2 separate regions of the Homo sapiens genome follow, and region 2 is linked to region 1. The links are contacts of gene promoters, found by promoter capture Hi-C in human tissues and cell types (Jung and others, 2019). All regions are on one chromosome and are shown on one strand. Each heading gives the region's core, a stretch centred on a gene start or on the middle of the fragment in contact. The rest is flanking DNA. Distances are from core to core; before and after follow the strand shown.

Region 1 (5,426 bases), core at 2,523-5,022:
AGGGCCACCTGCTTCCTTTTCCTATCCAGAAGAGAGAGAACAATGCTGCGTGTGTGTGTGTGTGTGTGTGTGTGTGTGTGTGTGTGCGCGCGCGCGCGCGCATGTGTGTGAAGGAGAGAGGGGGCGGGGAGAGGGAGAGAGGGGGAGAGAGAGAGAGAGAGAGAGAGAGAGAGAGAGAGAGAGAGAGAGAGAGAGAGAGAGAAAGATAGGGTCTGGCTGTCTGGCTTTGTTGCCCAGGCTGGAGTGCAACGGTGTGATTGTGGCTCACTGTAGCCTTGACCTCCCAGGCTCAATCGATCCTCCTACTCAGAATCCCAAGTAGGTGGGACTACAGGCATGGACCACCATGCCTGGCTAATTTTTAATTTTTTTGTAGAGATGGGATCTCTCTATGTTGACCAGGCTGGTCTTGAATTCCTGGGTCCAAGCCATCCTCCCCCTTCAGCCTCCCAAAGTGCTGGGATTATAGGTGTGAGCCACCGTGCCTAGCTCACTGTTGCTTTTGTTGTTGTTGTTGTTGAGATGTTTCTCTTTTTAATTTTTTTCTTAATTTTTAATTTTTGTGGGTACATAGGTGTATAAATTTGGAGGTACATGAGATGTTTTAATAAGGCATGTAATGGTTAATAATCACCTCATCGAAAATGGGGCATCCATCCCCTAAAGCATTTATCCTTTGTGTTACAAATAATCCAATTATACTCTTTCAGTTATTTTAAACTGTACAATTAAGTTATTATTGACTACAGTCACTCTGTTGTGCTATCAAACACTAGGTCTTATTCATTTTTCTTTTTTTTTGGTACCCATTAACCGTCCCACCTCCCCACCCCTTCCAGACTCTGGTAACTATCCTTCTACTCACTATCTCCATGAATTCAATTGTTTTGTTTAAATCTTTTTCCTTTTTTTTTTTTTTGAGATGTAGTCTTACTTTGTCACCCAGGCTGGAGTACAGTGGCACGATCTTGGCTCACTGCAACCTCCGCCTCTCATGATCAAGCAATTCTCGTGCCTCAGTCTCCTGAGTAGCTGGGACCACAGGTGTGCACCACCATGCCGGCTAATTTTTTTATTTTTTATTTTTAGTAGAGATGGAGTTTTCCTATGTTGGCCAGGCTGGTCTTGAACTCCTGACCTCAGGTGATCCTCCTGCCTCAGCCTCCCAAAGTGCTGGGATTACAGGCATGAGCCTCCGCACCAGCCAATCTCACAATCTCATTCTTTTTAATGGCTGAATAATATTCCATTCTGCATATGTACCATATTTTCTTTTCTTTTTTTTTTTTTTGAGATGGAGTCTCGCTCTGTTGCCCAGGCTGGAGCACAGTGGCGTGATCTCGGCTCACTGCAAGTTCCGCCTTCTGGGTTCACGCCATTCTCCTGCCTCAGCCTCCTGAGTAGCTGGGACTACAGGCGCTTGCCACCACGCCCGGCTAATTTTTTGTATTTTTAGTAGAGATGGGGTTTCACCGTGTTAGCCAGGATGGTCTCCATCTCCTGACCTCATGATCCGCCCGCCTCGGCCTCCCAAAGTGCTGGGATTACAGGCGTGAGCCACCGCACCCGGCCCATATGTACCATATTTTCTTTATCCATTCACCTGTTGATGGACACTTAGGTTGCTTCCAAATCTTGGCTATTGTGAATGGCACTGCAGCAAACATGGAAGTGCAGATATCTTTTTGATATACTGATTTCCTTTCCTTTGGGTACATACCCAGCAGTGGGATTGCTGGATCATGTGGTAGCTGTATTTTTAGTTTTCTGAGGAACCTCCGAACTGTTATCCACAGTAGTTATACCACTGTTGCTTTTTGAGGGTCCCATCAAACTTCAGGGCAATTTGCCAACTGTATGTGGAGGTTTTCTTGGGAAGGATCTGGAGCTTTTGCACTGCGGTGAGGGGTGATGCAGACTTGAGAATCCTGTGGCATGGCTGGTCCTGGAGGATTAGCAGAATCCCCCTTTTGAGGGTTGTTGGCTTTTCTTCCTGATCTGTTTCTTCTGGTTCCTCTGCTCTCACATCTCCCTGTGTTGACCTGAGCTATTGCATGTAGCCAAGTGGCCTGCAGCAATCTGCTGGTGGGCAGGTCTTGCTGGATGCAGTGTTGGCCCACTCTCCATGCCCAACCTGACATCAGGTCTCAGGCTTCTGCCAGCTCTCCAAGAGGACCTTACTGTGGTAAATCCAAGTTATCACAGTCTTTACTCGTCTGTTGAGTCTGTGGGCCTGAACCCCCTCAGGGTACTGGAGAACCTCCCTTTTTTTTTTTTGAGACAGAATTTTGCTCTGTCACCCAGGCTAGAGTGTGGTGGCGTGATCTCAGCTCACTGAACCTCTGCCTCCCAGGTTCAAGTGATCCTCCTGCCTCAACCTCCTGAGTAGCTGGGATTACAGGCACCTGCCATCACGTCCAGCTAATTTTTGTATTTTTAGTAGGGACAGGGTTTCACCATTTTGGCCAGGCTGGTCTCGAACCTCTGACCTCAAGTGATCCACCTTCTTTGGCCTCCCAAAGTGCTGGATTACAGGCATGAGCCACTGCGCCTAGCTAGGAGGACCTCCCCTTCTGAACCAGTTATGGTATCCCAGGGCCAGGAAGAAGCTGAAAGCCTTCTGTGGGAACAAAACAAAGCAAAACAAAAACGCTTCATGGGGCTTCCACCAAAGTTAGTGTTTTAAGGCACGCCTCAGGAACAGCAACTTGGAAGCAGGTTGTTCCAGGAAGTGGTTGTAGGCAGATTTTTCCTGAGTTCTTCCCCTGCTCTGAGGGCTCATTAAATCTTCCTCTGAGAAGCTCCACTTTTATCTTCATTTTACAGATGGGACAACCAAAGCTAAAGAGAGGCTAAGGCTCAAAAGTCAGAGTTAGCTAGTTGGGGCATTTGGGTGTGGGCCCAGGCCACGTAACTTCATCTGTTGTTCTAAGCCTGAAGCCAAGCCCAGAGTTAGGTGTTCTGTATGGGGAGCAAGGTGTGACCATCTTCCTGGGACCATTAGTCTGCTTGGGAGGCCGGTCATGACAGTCCAGGGCAAAAGATGCTGTCACAGGATCTCAAGACAAGATGCTCTAGGGAAGAGAAAAGGGAGTGCCCGCTGTGTGTCAGGACTTGTGCTAGGCTCTAAACCTCAGGCAGGAAAGCATGGGCAATGAGCCAGAGGCTGCTGTGGCAGCACAGACTGCGGTACCTCGAGGCTAGTAAGGGACAAAGCGTGGGAAGCTGGGATAGAGGCTCCTCACACTCTGAAACCAGCAGGAGGAGGTGCGAGACCCAGCACCTCCATTTCTAGAGGTGGCGTGACCTTGGCTCGGCCTCCCCTCTCTGAGCCTCAGTTTCCTCTCCAGAGTGAACTGGGGGCTGCACCCCCCTTCTCCCAGAGTGGGGGACAAAAAAACGAATAGCACACCGCTGAGATTCCCTGTGTGTGCGCAAGTGTATGACAAGACGCCGCCGGTACCGCACGAGGGCCAGGGACGCAGAGAGGCCAAGGGCGCTCCGGCCTCGTAGTAGCCAGCGAAAACTCCGCCGCCAGCCACTCCGGGAACGAAGCGCATGCGCCAACCCATGCCGTCACAGTCACGTGCCCCACGCTTTCGGCAGAGGCCCTGAGAGGCAGACTCTGACTGACACGTGAGCTGACCTGTCAGCAGGAAGCACTTCCCCTGGCGACGAGCAAAAAGACTGTTGATTGGGGATAGCACCCCCTCGGGGGCGGGTTCTTTGCAGTCCTGGTTACTATGACGCCCGGCCCCCGCCCCCTCGGCTAGCCGCCATCTTGTTGTTGATCCGTACCCAGTGGGCAGCGCCGGGAGCTGGACCAAGCGGCCGGTGAGAGGCCGCTGTAGCGGTGCTCAGCCACCTGTGCTGCCTGCCAGGGGGCGGGCCGAAACCTGGAGGCCCGGGGGGCCCAGCTCCCGTAGGGAGCCGTGGGCGCTCGGTGCCCGGGCCGGGCAGGTGAGTGACAGGAGCCGGGCCGATAGACCGGCCTGACGCCCGCGGGGAGGGCGGTGGCGGGCGCGGGGTTGGAGTGGGCGCGTGTGGGGTCGGGGCTCCGGTGGGGCCATCACTGGAACATCGCTCGAGCGTCCTGACCGGCCGCCCGCCGAGCCTCCCAGATGCTGGCACCGAAGCCGGGGGGACAGCCGGTGTGGAGGACGGAGAGCGCCAGTGCCTGAGGGTTGGCCGGCTAGTAGCGGGAAACCAGCTTCTCTGACCGAAGCTCTGGACTCCGCTGATCCGGAGCGCTAAAGTGTGTCCGGTGCCACCCTGATGCTCTCCTGGGAGTTATGTTGCTCCTGGCTGAGAAATAGACTTACCTCTTTCTTAGATAGCGTTCCTGCGAGTGATTTTCAGGACGCTGGATGCTAAGACTAGACGAAGCAAGCCAAAGCCCCCGCGAGCCAGGCAGGCCGGTGTCACGGCCCTATGATTATGGCAAGGGGGACCCTCTGCCTGGCTGCTGCTTCCTGAGACCCGTTCGGAACCTCACGTGTACCTCGAAGCTCACCGTTTTCCTCGCAAAGAACCTGGTTAAATGTCCATAATGGCTGAGTTTTATTTTGGAACATAATTTCTTTGGTTCTTCACCACCACTTTTTGGAGAGTGGTAATGTCTTCCTCTTTTTGCTTTAGGAGAAAGTGAGTATTATGGTGATGACTTGATTTTATCTCCTAAAGGGATGCTCGCCATAGGAGACAAAGGAAACGTAGGAGTGTCTTAGAATCGGAAAAAGAAACTTGTTTTTGTTGTGGATGATATGGAACTGGCAAATTAACTGTTTTTTTTCTTTTTTTTCTTTTGAGACAGAGTCTCTCGCTCTGTTGCCCAGGCCGGAGTGCAGTGGCGCGATCTCGGCTCACCACAGCCTCCACCTCCCGGGTTCAAGCGATTATCCTGCCTCAGCCTCCCGAGTAGGTAGGACTACAGACACGCGCCACCATGCCCGGCTAATTTTTGTATTTTTAATAGAGACGGGGTTTCACCATGTTGGCCAGGCTGGTCTCGAACTCCTGACCTCGTGATCCACCCCCCTTGGCCTCCCAAAGTGCTGGGGTTACAAGTGTGAGCCACTATGCCCGGCGCAAATTAACTTTTAACAGTACTAAAATTATCTTGCTCAGTGAAAACACCTTCAAGCCCCTTTCCTGTGAATTTGGGCAAGTTGGAGATCCTCAGTAGAGTGTGCAGGTCTAGGAAGAGTTCTCATTGCTCCAAAACACATTTCTCTTGACCTGTGGCCTCTTTGGTTCTTTGTACAGTCTTCTTGTATGTGGTCATAGAATATGCCTGCATGAGATGACTAAGAAGTCAAGCGACAATACTTTGTGCACTTTTTGTTTTGTTTTGTTTTGTTTTGTTTTTTTGAGATGGAGTCTTGCTCCGTTGCCAGGCTGGAGTACAGTGGTGCCATCTCGGCTCA
Region 2 (4,989 bases), core at 1,500-3,999, 460 kb before region 1:
TTGAGCTCCAGGTTGAATGGCCCCCAGCTGGGCCCTGCTGTCCTTCCCAGACCCTGTGCTCCTGCTCCATCACTGCCAGTCACACCTGCAGCTGCCAGGCACTACCTCTAGCTATCTCCAGGGCCCTGCTCATGCTGTTCTCTTTGCCGGGAATACGTGCCCCATGCCCCATTCACAGTGTCCCAATTCTGATCACTGTGGCACGTTTGTTCCTCTGTGCAGCTTAGCTGGGTGGGTAGTAAGGTCTGTGCAGAGGTCAAACTTGGGTACTCTGGCCAAGCTCAACAGCATCCCTTGGGGCTGGTCAAAACAACCTCAGAGGATGAAGGTGCTAACACACAAACGAACACAAGCAGTAACAATAACATCGGCAATATCGACAGCAAAGCTATATGAAAACAGCGCCCACCATGTGCCAGATGCTGCTCTACATCAATGACACCCACCAACTGCCATCTCCACAGCAATCCTGGGAGGTAGGTTCCATTCTCACCCCAATCTAACCAGTGAAGGAACTGAGGTCCAGGGAGGCTGAGGTCACAGGGTTAGAGTCCCCTCTGCAGGGAGCACACTTGCCCACCGTGCAGTCCCTCCTAGAGCTGTCCTAAGTACCTGGTACTGCAGCGGAGCCACACAGTCCACCTGGCACTGGGTTCACTCCCTAGCTCCCCAGGCAGACTCTGGGCCATGTCTGCAGTGCTCAACAAGCGGCAGCAGGCATTGGGACATGGTGGCAGGCCTTGCCAAGGCCCCTGCCCACCTTCAGCCCCCTACGCCAGAGACCACCCTGAGGGGAAAGGCCTGAGCCCTCCTCACAAATGCCATCAGGCGCCTGCAATCACTGAGCTTCTGACTGTCCCAGGCCTGCTTTCCAGGATGAGGGGAGGGGATCTGGGGAGATGGGGAGTGACAGCTAGTTGGGTATGAAGTTTATTTTTGAGGGTGGTGATTATGTTCTGGAATTAGATAGCAGTGATGGTTGCACAATCTTGTGGACATACAAATGTGCAGGCCCTGGGAAGGCTGGGGCGCTGTGGCTGGGGCAGCAATCCCCTCTATTGCTTTAGCCCCTGGGCACTACAGGGGCCGGGCCCAGTATCTTCACTGGGGTGTGTACCGGGATATATACCAGCACCACTCCCTCCCCATTGGGCTGTGCATGGCAAAGGGGCAGCCAGGATCTGCATACCAACACTCCTCCACCTGCCAATGAGGACATGGGGAAAGGTCCCAGGAAAGCCTCACAGCGATGCCTGAACACTTAAGGCCCATCCCCCTGGGGCTCAAAGCACCCACTGGGGCAGGGAGGGCAGCAGTGGCTACCTGACTGTCTTCCCCACTGGCTCCTCCAGAGCAGGAGGAAGAACCAGGAGCCAGTCACAGCCAGGATGGGGGGAACTGCAGGAGCAGAGGCCAAGGATGCGAAGTCATGGGTCCCCATGCAGTCCCGAGCCAGGCGAGCTCAGACTCAGCAGGGAAGCTACCCAGGGCATGGGGGACCTGAGGTCTAGGGTGAAAGCTTCCCCATCTTGTGTGACTTCGGGACTCCTGCCCACTTGAGGCATCAGTTTCCCTATCTGGCCACTGAGAGTGAAGAGGGGGTCTGGCCTTTTGCCCACTCTTAGTAGGTGATGTGGGCCGCTTCGTGACCCTGCCCAGGGACGAGGGTGCAAACTTGCTTTGCATCTGATTTTCCTAGCAGCAGCTAGACCTGGTAGACATGAGGTAGGCAGCACAGAGCCAGTCACACTAGGAGCCAGGATATCTGCTCCCTGCCCCAGCCAGGGAGGGCCCACTTCCCTGTCCCCTTCAAGTTTCATTTTCCCCTCCTAAGGCCTCTTAAATGTTAAGAGAACATTCTCTATCCCAAGCAGGGGTCACTGAAAAAAGAGTTCCACTTGACAGGTAAGCAAATCAAGGTCATGGAGCCCCTATCCCTAGACTCAGGCTGGTCTCTTTGTCTTTCCAGCAGCTGTGACTCAGGCGGGAAGTAGTGAGTGGCAGGACAAGGGTGTGGTGCTGGCAGCCAGGCAGGAAGCAGGGGGAACAACGGGACAGAGGCAGGGGCACAGCCCAGGAGCAGCTCCAGCAGAGAAGGGGGACAGGAGCAGAGGTGGGTGGAGCCCCAGGATGGCATCTGGGTGGAATGGGTGGGGTGAAGAGCTCTCGGGCAGCCCACAGGCTAAGTGCCCTGGCAGCTGTGGGGTAGTAGCTTCACTCTCCCCATCTCTGGCTGGGTCCTCTTTCCATCAGGACCTGAGGGATGCCCCCTACCAGATAAGCTGGCAAGAGGCTTATCTGTGAGTTTTGCACACACCCAGCTCCCCTCGCACCTGCCTCTCAGAGGGGTGGCTGAGTCCAGATTTTTTTTTTGAAACACAGTCTCGCTCTGTTGCTCAGGCTGGAGTGCAATAGCATGATCTTGGCTCACTGCAACCTTTGCCTCCCGGTTCAACCTCTGCCTCCCGGTTCAAGCAATTCTCCTGCCTCAGCCTCCCCAGTAGCTGGGACTACAGGCATGTGCCACCACGCCCGGCTAATTTTTGTATTTTTAGTAGAGACAGGGTTTCACCATGTTGGCCAGGCTGGTCTCGAACTCCTGACCTCAAGTGATCCACCTGCTTTGGCCTCCCAAAGTGCTGGGATTACAGGCGTGAGCCACCGCGTCCAGCCTGAGTCCAGATTTCTGCAAAGATGCTGGGTAGGGGAACTGAGGCAATAGAAGGTGGCATGAATCAGCCCCTCCTGCCCGCAGAGGGCCCCACCAAGTGCTCTGTCCCCAGCTGGGTAAGACCAGAGAGGCCTGCAGAGGTTCCCTGGGGTGGCCTTGGCATTCCCACTGAGTCACACCTCTTCCCACCAAGGAAGAAACCTCTGCAGCCTTTGCCCTGTGGCGCAGTTAGGGCCCACAGCAGGTAGGCAGTAATCATAGTGATGTGCTGGGTGGTGGCAGCTGCTCTGCACTAGAACATCTGCTTCCACTTTGGGAGTGCTGAGCCCCAGAGGAGGGAACCGATGAGAGAAGGGAGACAGTACCACTCCACCTGCGTGAACAAGACCAGCAGGGCCCCTGCAGCAGGAGAGACAGGCCCACAGGTCTTGTCACTTGATGCTTAGTCCAGGCCCCAGCATTCAAGTCACAGCATCTGTTCATCTTGGACCCTCTAACTCCTTAATAGGCTTTGATCTGCTGGGAGGCTGGGACTTGCTACTATCCTTTCTGGCTTCAGTTTCCCCTGGGCAGAGCTGTCAAGCCTCAAGCAGCCAGCCAGCCTGCCTCCCATTTTCAGATCCTCTCCCAGAAGGAGGTCCAGACTTGCCACAGCCCTGATGTCCACTCTGATCCTTCCTGAGATCCTCAAGAGCTTCAGCTCCTTTCCTGCCCTTTCTCTGGCACCTCATCTGTGAAATGGGACAACGCTGTCTCCTTCTGAGAGATGGGTAAGGATTAAATGCAAAGCTCTTCTCACAGTGTGGGGCACATGTGAGCATTCAGGTAAAAGTTATCACTATTTATCTACCCTTTGAAAGAGTACAGATTTCCCCAAACCTCTCATTTCCTGCAACCTGCAGAGAAGACTGCTGTGGTCATCTCATTTGAAGGAAAGCTTCTGAAGATTTTCAGATAAAGAGCAGATGAAGAGCAATGGACAGCGGCTAACAGGCTGATTCAGAGCTGTGGTGGTTCCCTGCTGGGACTCAGCATAACCTGGGACAGGAGTCAGAGCTACTGGCTCCTCTGTTGGCTTTCCGCTGTGTCGTCACTTCCCTTCAGTATAACCCGGCACTCCTACACAGCTGGGGCCTCCTTCCTGCCCAGGAGCCTCACTGCTGACATTGCTCACTGGCTGCACACACCCAGAAAGCCAGGCACACCTCCCTGGAGAGAACCCCCATACTGGTGGGCTCCGTGGGAACACGTGGGGCCAGGAAGAGCAGCCAGCTGACGTGGCAGGCCCGAGGGCAGAGATTCTCAGAAGCAGCAGCGGCTGGGACCACAGGGTAGACTTGGGCAGCGGCCCAGCTCAAACCCACAACACCAGGCCCGCCCACACTGCCACAACTCCCCAGCCTATCCCAGTGGGATATGGTGGGGCAGGTGGGGGTAGCCCTGAGCCCACCACAAAGGCAGCCCGGACACCACCTCCTTCTCTTATCCCAGGAAGGTGCCACATCTCCAGCTCAGCCTGTGGTTCTCAGATCCCGTGCACCCCCACGTCCCCTGCAGTCCTAGGGACCCATGCCCCGCCACCACCAGGGGGCGCCCGGCAGCCGGAGACACTGTGGAAGGAAGTGGGGGCTGGGCAGCACTGGGGAGCGTTTTGTTTCAGAAAAGCAGCCTCAGCCAGGGGCGACTGGGGAAGGTGTCCCACCCACCAGCCCGTCCCTGGGAAGCCCCCAGCCTGCAGAGACTCGGCACACACAGAAACCATGGCAACGGGAGGGAGGGGCAGAGACCCCGCCAGACAAAGGCCCTCTGAGCCCCGCCCCTGGCGTCTCTTCCTTCCTCCAGGTGCTGCTCCCCGGCCCCCCTCATTCCCTCCGAGAAGGCTCAGCACGGGTCCGGCACTGGGAGGCAGGGACTCGAGGTCTTGAAAGGGACCGGCAACACTCCCACCCATGTGTGTGGCATGGCCCTATAACGGATGCCTGAACAGACCAACAGACTCCACACCTCCCTCCCGCCAGTCTCTGGCACTCGGCTGCCTCCAGCGGCTTCCAGGGGTTCACAGTGCCCAAAGGGGAGCACTACCAAGCAGGGCCTGGCTTCCTACTGCCAAGTCAGAGATCTCTGTGTTAGGGAAACTGAGGCCTCAGGTCCTGCCCACACATGGGAAAGTCTTTCTGGGGCAAGGTGTGTCTCCCTCAGTGGGGCCCTTTCCACTGCACAGAGGGAAACTCAGGCACCGGGTGAGGAAGGCTGGCCTGATATAAAGGAGGCCCCAGACCTGTTCATCGCTGGCGCCTCAGGCCCCAGGTACCGCCTGT

Evidence for each region. The method cuts DNA at HindIII sites, captures the fragments that hold promoters and counts their contacts. A contact is called where the count stands out against the background at its distance.
Region 2: a fragment that was not itself captured here is called in contact with the fragment with the promoter of IP6K1 in region 1 in 1 of the 25 tissues and cell types used here (lymphoblastoid cells).

Annotation. Positions count from the first base shown.
Region 1 is chr3:49,784,888-49,790,313 of GRCh38, reverse strand. It overlaps IP6K1 (inositol hexakisphosphate kinase 1), which reads left to right and starts at 3,772. Exons shown (of 6, transcript NM_153273.4): 1 at 3,772-3,960. RefSeq lists silencers at 1,919-2,128, 2,909-3,073, 3,809-4,158 and enhancers at 3,249-3,318, 3,405-4,094. The HindIII fragment of the contact is 27,523 bases long and covers 1-5,426 here.
Region 2 is chr3:50,245,637-50,250,625 of GRCh38, reverse strand. All of the region lies in intron 1 of GNAI2 (G protein subunit alpha i2), which reads right to left. Among named protein-coding and RNA genes, the nearest start is that of GNAI2, 12 kb to the right of the region's middle. RefSeq lists enhancers at 3,556-4,271, 4,440-4,539, 4,272-4,987. The HindIII fragment of the contact is 4,753 bases long and covers 373-4,989 here.